2 separate regions of the Homo sapiens genome follow, and region 2 is linked to region 1. Evidence: promoter capture Hi-C in 16 types of primary human blood cells and fetal thymus (Javierre and others, 2016). All regions are on one chromosome and are shown on one strand. The core of a region is centred on a gene start or on the middle of the fragment in contact, and the rest is flanking DNA. Distances in the headings are between cores, read along the strand shown.

What was found. The method cuts DNA at HindIII sites, captures the fragments that hold promoters and counts their contacts. A CHiCAGO score of 5 or more calls a contact.
Region 2: a fragment that was not itself captured here is called in contact with the fragment with the promoter of SLC16A14 in region 1 in 8 of 17 cell types (erythroblasts, M1 macrophages, M0 macrophages and 5 more); the score reaches 8.5 in erythroblasts.

The regions. Positions count from the first base shown.
Region 1 is chr2:230,066,924-230,070,780 of GRCh38, reverse strand. SLC16A14 (solute carrier family 16 member 14) reads left to right here and starts at 1,857. Exons shown (of 5, transcript NM_152527.5): 1 at 1,857-2,226. The region is part of intron 1 of LOC107985995 (a long non-coding RNA gene); the gene reads right to left. RefSeq lists enhancers at 1,794-1,853, 1,864-1,983, 2,379-3,149 and silencers at 2,214-2,483, 2,754-3,003. The HindIII fragment of the contact is 4,045 bases long and covers 1-3,360 here.
Region 2 is chr2:230,587,415-230,591,271 of GRCh38, reverse strand. LOC112268431 (a long non-coding RNA gene) reads left to right here and starts at 1,616. Exons shown (of 5, transcript XR_002959453.2): 1 at 1,616-1,774. RefSeq lists enhancers at 1,459-1,708, 1,869-2,018. The HindIII fragment of the contact is 1,689 bases long and covers 943-2,631 here.

The DNA of each region.
Region 1 (3,857 bases), core at 608-3,107:
GCCACCACACCCAGCTAATTTTTGTGTTTTTAGTAGAGACGGGGTTTCACCATGTTGGCCAAGCTGGTCTTGAACTCCTAGCCTCAAGTGATCCACCCGCCTTGGCCTTCCAAAGTGCTGGGATTACAGGCGTGAGCCACTGTGCCCAGCCTCAATAATTTTTAAATCAAGAGTTGATATAAGATTAGCTGGGCATGGTGGCACGCTCCTATAACCCCAGCTACTTGGGATGCTGAGGCAGGAGAATTGCTTGAACCTGGGAAGCAGATGTTGTAGTGAGCCAAGATTGCCACTGCACTCTAGCCTGGGTGACAGAGTGAGATTCCATCTCAAAAAAAAAAAAAAAAAAAAAGAGAGACAGAATTGATATAAGAAATAGCAATATAGGCCGGGTGCAGCGGCTCATGCCTGTAATCCCAGCACTTTGGGAGGGTGAGGCAGCCAGATCACTTGAGTCCAAAAGGTCAAGACCAGTCTGGGCAATATAATGAGACTCCGTCTCTATAAAAAGTCAAAAAAATTAGCCAGGCATGGTGGCGTGTGCCTGTAGTCCCAGCTACTCAGGAGGCTGAGGTGGGAGGATCACCTGAGCCCAGGAGGTTGAGGCTGCAATGAGCTGTGATCATGCTACTGCACTCCAGCTTGGGTGACCGAGGAAGGCAATGTGAAATACATGTGAATTTTTTTTCAAAGAAACGAAAAAGAAGGAAGAAAAGAAAAAGGAAAAGAAGAAAGAAGGAAATCTGTGGTAGGCAGAATAATGGTCTCCCAAAGATGTCCACATCCTAATCCCTGGAACATGTGAATTTGTTACCTTACATGGCAAGAGGGGAATTAAGGTTGCAGATGGAATTAAGGTTGCTAATCAGCTGACCTTAAAATAGAGAGATTATCTGGATTATCTCATTGGACTCAATGTAATCCCCAGGGTCCTTAAAAGTGGACAGGGGTGGGGGCAGAAAAGGGGAGACAAGGCAATGTGAGTATGGAAAGAAGACAAAATGACGCAGCAGTGCTGGCTTTGAAGATGGAGGAAGAGCCACCAGCCAAGGAATGTGGGCGGCCTGCAGAAGCTGGTGGCTCTCCCCTACAGCCACGAGAAGGAACACAGCCTTCAAGGTGGCCAACACCATGATCTCAGCCTAGTATGACCCATTTCAAACTTCCGACCTCCAGAACTGTAAAATAGTGAATTTGTGTGGTTTTCCTCTGCTATTACTGTGGCAGTTTATCACAACAGCAGCAGAGAATTACTGCAAAACCTTCAGGCGGGAAAAAACAGCACAGGCTTCATCGACTCACACATTCACTTCAATAATACAGAAAACTGTCCAAGGCAAAGCACTATGTTGTGTGCCCTGCTGGGAATGAGGTAGGGAGGTATTGAGATGAAAGTTGTGCCTGGTGCCCACGAAGGTAGGTAATGGACGTGCAGAAAGAGCAGGGAGAGGTGGGACCCAGGGTGGAAACAAGAATGAGGGACTGGCCGGTCACGGTGGCTCAGCTTGTGATCCCAGCACTTTGGAGGCCAAGGCCAGAGGATTCCTTGAGTCCAAGTGTTCGAGACCAGCCTGGCAATATAGTGAAACCCGTGTCTCTAAAAGAGAGAGAATAAGGGACTTTGAGTCCTCTTTGGCCAAAAATATTTCAGTGAGGGTCTGTTTCATCCCTTCTCTCCCATCTCAGAGAAATGGAGGCTACTGCTAGTCTCACTTGCATCCTGGATTAGATTTCAGGACCTTTCCGCCAGTGATAAATGTGCAGCGCCTTAGCGGAACCTCAGCCAAAGCTATAAACTTCAACCGGCCACAAGAGTGTGCATGTGAGGTGACTGCATTTTTTTTCCCTGCCAAACCAGAATTAGCCGGTATAGGAATGAACGAGCATGAAGATTTGAAATTGCTCCGATTGGAAGGAAGCCCAGGTTAGGTTTGGGCACCTCCAAACGCACCCGTTTTAAAGCCACCTGGACTGAGGCGTCGAGCTTTCAGCTCCACCAAACGCTCACCTGGCCTGGCAGCGAGCGGCGGAAGAGCCCGGGAGCCCCTCACAGAGCGCACCGAGCCGGGCGGAGAGCTGAGCCGCAGGCACCCGCGTCTCCAGGATGATAGGCGACATTGCAACAAATCTCTACACCCAGCAGCTCAGGGGGCTCCAAGCAGAGCAGCAAGTTCGAGGATCCGGGCGTGGAGCCGAGTGAGGCCGCAGCCCAGCGGGCCTCGGGCGGTGAGTATCCGAGGCCGCGCGCGCCGCGGGCCTGGGGAATGGAGCGACGCCGGGGGCATCGGAGCCTAGGTTTCAGATGGCCGCTGCACCCCCAGGGACCCCCGGGAAGGGGCAGCCCCAGCCCAAGGCAGGCTCGGGAAAGGCTGCCCGGGCGGTGGAGGGCGAGACTGTGCCGGGGCAGGTGGTAGTGCCAAGGCCGCCGCGGGGGCTTGGGAGCTGCGGGCGGGCAGGGTAACCGGCGGTTCAGGGCAGACCGCCAGGCGGAGCTTGGGGACGCGCGCCTTGCTGCTCAAGCTGGCCGGGGCCCCGCGAGCGTCATCCTGGGCACCCCCGTCCGGCTGGAGAAGCGCGTTCTGCCCGGAGCCCAGCCTCGCTGCCCGGCTGCTCTCTAGGCCCGTTTGGGACTCGAACTGGACAGTGATGAGGCGCAGAGCGGGGGACCCGGGGCTGCGCCTAGGGACTTCGCGGGGTGCGGATGCCTCTCTGCACAGGCTGTGGTGCTGCAGCCGGCCCAGCTTCCCCGGTGGGCTGCTGGCTTCCGAACGCGCCGAGGGATGCGGGGTGCCCGAAGTGGGGATGTGGTCTCGGGGTGCCAAGGGAGCGGGAGCACCGAGCGCGGGTGGGGGCGGGCGCTCGAAGGGTGGGGCGCGAGGCCGGACCCCGCGGGCACGATCCCGCACCCAGGGCGCGCAGAGGCTGGGCCCCCTTAGCGCTTCCGATTGAGGCTCCTCAAGAGAGGCTGAAATGGGGTGAGAGACCGGGGACGGCCATTTCGGGGCTAAACGCTGCCAAGGCCATGACGATGTTTTAGGAGCTGAACTCTGCTTTCCAATTAAGCCATTTTCTTTCTGAGGAAAAGTTGATTCGGGCTCATTAACAAGGATGACTGAGGGCCATTATTGGGGCTTAGAGAGATTCTCCTTTGCCTTGTCTGGCTTCTTTGTTTGCATGTGCGTGCGTGTGCGGCTGTGTGTGTGTGTGTGAGAGAGAGAGAGAGAGAGAGAGAGAGAGAGAGAGAGAAGAGAGGGGAGAGAGGCAGTGTTGGGGGTGGGAGGAGGTAAAACAGGCTTGGGATCCTGCAGGCCTGGGTTCCGATTTGGTTTCCACAGCCTGCTAGTTTAACCTTTCTAAGCTTCATTGCTCCCATTTGATGGCTCAGATTCTTCCTCTGTAAAATGCGGACATTCATGCCAATTGGACTGGAGGAGAAGCCACCAAGCACAGTCCCTGACCCAGAGCGAAGCATGTATGTGTTGAGTCCTCCTAATTCGGTGTGAATTTTTCGGTTCTGTTTTTCTCCTATGCTGTCTGCACCAGCTCAGCTCAGCTCCGCTCCCCAGCCTTCTCCGCGGCAGCCTCTTCAGCCTGCTGGCCGCAAGTGCGCCCTCTAAAGGCCCCAAATGCCCTGTACACACCAGGTGAAGAGCGCGGAAGCGCCTGCAGAGCAGAATTAAAGGTGAAGCCCGCACTCACCTGCGTGGGATGCAGAGCCGCTACCACCACGCTCTGCGTAGCTTTGGGGAAGACTGTAATTTCAATTTTAGCTTCGTGCTTCCCGCTTTCCTTATGTGTAATGAGCTCACCACATGCAATGTAATAACAATAGCCAAATTAAAAATGAATGACTTGGC
Region 2 (3,857 bases), core at 538-3,037, 520 kb before region 1:
GTTCGGCTCAGAGTTCTGGTCCCTGGTTTTAGTTCATGTCCTACTTTCATTCTCTCTTTGCTCCAATTTATCTTTAACTTTGTACTGATACATTTCAGTATTTTAAAAAGTCACTTCAAATCTTTCTTGAATAATATCAGAGTATGAGTGAAAAAAATCACTGTGTACAAACATAAATGTAGCTGGATCTTCATCTCACCCCTTAAGACCTAGATAATCTTGGTTCTCATCCTCTTGGCCCATCCCATGAGAATCATTTCTGAGCTCCACTGCCTGGACATCTCTAGGTCATTGATTTTGTTAGGTACATTTTCTACTTCCCCATGACTGCAGGTGAGAGTTTTACAGAACTTTTACTACTATATAACAAGGGTCTCCTTCCTCCAGATTCCACTAGTGTTTCTCTCGCTTTCTCATACACTGCACTGACATCTTCTGGAACACCTTTAGGCTTCCATCCACTGCTCTGTCCCACAGCCAAATGCCCCATGTTTTATGTTTTTGTTATAACTGCATCCTACTTCAAAATCTGTTCTAGTTATACTACTGTGAAAAAAAAAACTACCCTAAAGCAGTGATTTAAAACAATAAAAGTCTTATTTTATTTCGTGATACACCTGCAGTTTGGACAGAGCTCAGTGGAGATGGTGTGTGTCTGCTCTAGATGGGTATCTCCTGGCAGCTCGACCAGGGCTGCAGCATCAACTTCCAATATGGCGCACCACATGGCTGGCTGGCTGGCTGGGGCCCTCCTGTGGTTTAAGACCTGGTCTTAATATCAGCATAGCATTGCTTCTGCCATATTCAAACATTCTGTTGGTCAAGCAGTCACATATCCCAGATTAAAGGAAAGGGGACACAGACTCCACCTGTCAATGGGAGGAGTGTCAAATTCTGGGGATATTTTTTAAAAGCCTTATATCTGTACTATCTTTAAAAGCTTGGCTATTTTTACCAACTTGGCTCCTGCCTCTGGCCCCAGTGGTCCAGAGGTTTCTCTTTTTCCTCCCTGCCTGCTTTCCAGAAATTTCTAAGGGCATTCCCCTGACTTTATGATGTAGAGCATTTCAGCTTCCTCCAACCTATATCCAAATGCTTGGGGTCTAACTTGTCCAGTCAAGGTCACAATGTGCCCCACCAACTCATAGGCCTGAGAAAGGCTTGGAAGTTTCTGTCTTTCCCTTTTTTTTTTTTTTCCCATGGCCATGTCTGCAAGGGGAGGAGGCAAACAGAGTTTTACTTCTCTCTAACATCAACTATGTTACTTCACCTAGAAACAACTTCAGTCAGCTTTGGTCAAATAGAGTTTTCTGCCCTCTTTCCTTTGCATAAACACATGATCCCCTGACTTCCATGGACTTCTTGGAGTTGGCCTCCTGTTCCTCCTCCTTGGCCTGTACCCTCTTCTGGTCCTCCAGTCATGATTCTGTAAGTCCTTCTTAATTCCCGGCTACCATATTTTCACAAGAGTTGAGAAACCCCACTATCTGTGGCCTAGTTTTCACAAATACAGAGGCATTCAGAAATATTAATACTTTCACTTCCCTTTTCTACTTTCTGGGTGAGTCAGTTCAGACTTTTTGTTCTGGTCCCTGGGAGCCATGTTGGAAAGCCCACATTGGGCCTGAGAGTTCATAGATGTTGACGGATGGTGTGTCAGCCCCCATGGGGCTCTGCAGCCTAGAAAGTAGCAGGACCAGGAAGTCAGCAGGTGGAGGTGGCAAGTGAACAGAGGATGCGTCTTTTTCTCCCTTCCTTTGTCATCTTTCTCCATGTGGGTTTTTATATTTATTTACTTATACTTAGTTTTATTCCAAAACTTCTTTGAACTGGGTCATAAAGCCAACTGCATATTGTAAAGTAGAAGAAACTAAGCTCTGAGAAATCAGGTAAAAAGTGGCAAGTGATAGCTGGTGATGGAACGCTACCTATCCTGGCTTACCCTTTTGCAAATGTTACCTGGGTGAGACAAAGACATTTGAACCCTGAGGTTTCTTGTATTGGTTTTGCTTTGTTTTTCTTGGTATAGACCTAGGAGTGTAATTGCCCGGTCATAGGGTGGCTTTAGTAGACACTGCCAGTTTTCCAAAGTGGGTGTCCTAATTGTCACTCCACTAGCCACGTATGAGTGTTTCAAACAGCATATTCTTCTCAACATTTGATGCTAGGTTTTTTTTTTTTTTGTAGATCTTAGCCATTTTGGTGAATAGATAGTGGTATCTTGGCATAGTGGTATCTCATTGAGCTTTTACTTTGCATTTCCGTGAAAAACAATGCTTTTGAGCACTTTTTGATATGTTTATTGGTCATTTGAGTATTTTGTTATGAAATGCCTGTTATTTTGCCTATTTTTTTAAAAAAAATTGGGATTTTTGTGTTCTAATTACTAGACATTCTTCCTACATGTTCTACATAGAAGTCTTCTGTTGGATATGTGTTGTGAATATCTTCACATATTCTGTGGCTTTTTTTCACTCTCTTAATAGTGTCTTTTGATGAACAAAAGTTCTTAGTTTTAAGTAAGTCTAATTTGTCAGTGGTTTCTTTCATAGTTAGTGTTTTGGGATCTTTTGCAAGAAATCTTTGCCTACCTTAAGCCAAGAAGATATTATACTACCTGCTCTAGAAGCTTTACTATTTTATCTTTCATATTTAGGTCTATGATTCATTTGAAATAAATTTTTGTGTATGGTATGAGGTAGGGTGTTCAATTGCTCCAACAATACCATTTCATGAAGTGACCATCGTTTTCCCCACTGAAATGTGGCGGTGTCTTTGTTGTAAATTTGGTGACCTTATGTGTGTGTTTCTCTTTCTTGTAGTCTCTGTTGATTTATATGTTTATCTTTATGCCCATATCATGTTGTCTTAGTTATTGTAACTTTATATGAAGTTAAAACATTGTGATTCTTTTTCAAGACTCTTTTGGCTAACTTTGGTCTTTTGCATTTTCATTTATATTTTAAAATCAATTTGTCAATTTCCACAAACAATTCCACTTGAATTTTATTAAAATTATATTGAATCTATGAATCAGTTGGGGATAACTTACATATTAATATTTAGTCTTCAATCCACAAATATACCTTTCCATTTATTTTGGCTTTCTTTAATTTCTCTCAGCAAAAGTTCTATGATTTTCAGTGTAGTGTTCTGGAACATCTTTTGTTAGATTTACCTTTATTGTTAGTGGTTTTGATGCTTTTGAAAAGGATATTGTTTTTCTATTTTTATTTAAACTTATAATTTGCTAGTATACAAAAATACAATTGATTTTTGCATATTAACCTTGAATCCAGATACTTTACTGAAGTTACTAATTAATTCTAATAGTTCATTTCTTTAGATTTTCCAAGTATATAGTCATCTGCAAATAATGGTAGTTACATTTCCTCCCTTTTGGGTTTATTCTTTTCATTTCTTTTTATCACCTGATTGCATTATCTAGGATTTCTAGTAAGTGTTAAATGGAAATGGTGACAGTAGACATTTTTGTCTTGTTCTCAAATTGAGTGGGGAAGTATTTAGTATTTCACATTTAAGTATAGTGTTAGCCATAGGGTTTTGTTTGTTTATATACTTCATTATATTAAAAAAGTTACTTTCTATTCTTAGTTTTCTGAGAGTTAAAAATCATGAACAGATATTTTATTATATTTTAGCTTTTTCTGGATCTATTGAAATTATCATATATTTTTCCCCTTTATTTTGTCAATCTGGTGATATACATTTCCTGATTTTTTTTTTTTTTTTTTTTGAGACGAGAGTCTTGCTCTGTTGCCCAGGTTGGAGTGCAATGGCACAATCTTGGCTCACTGCAACCTCCACCTCCTAGGTTCAAGCAATTCTCCTGCCTC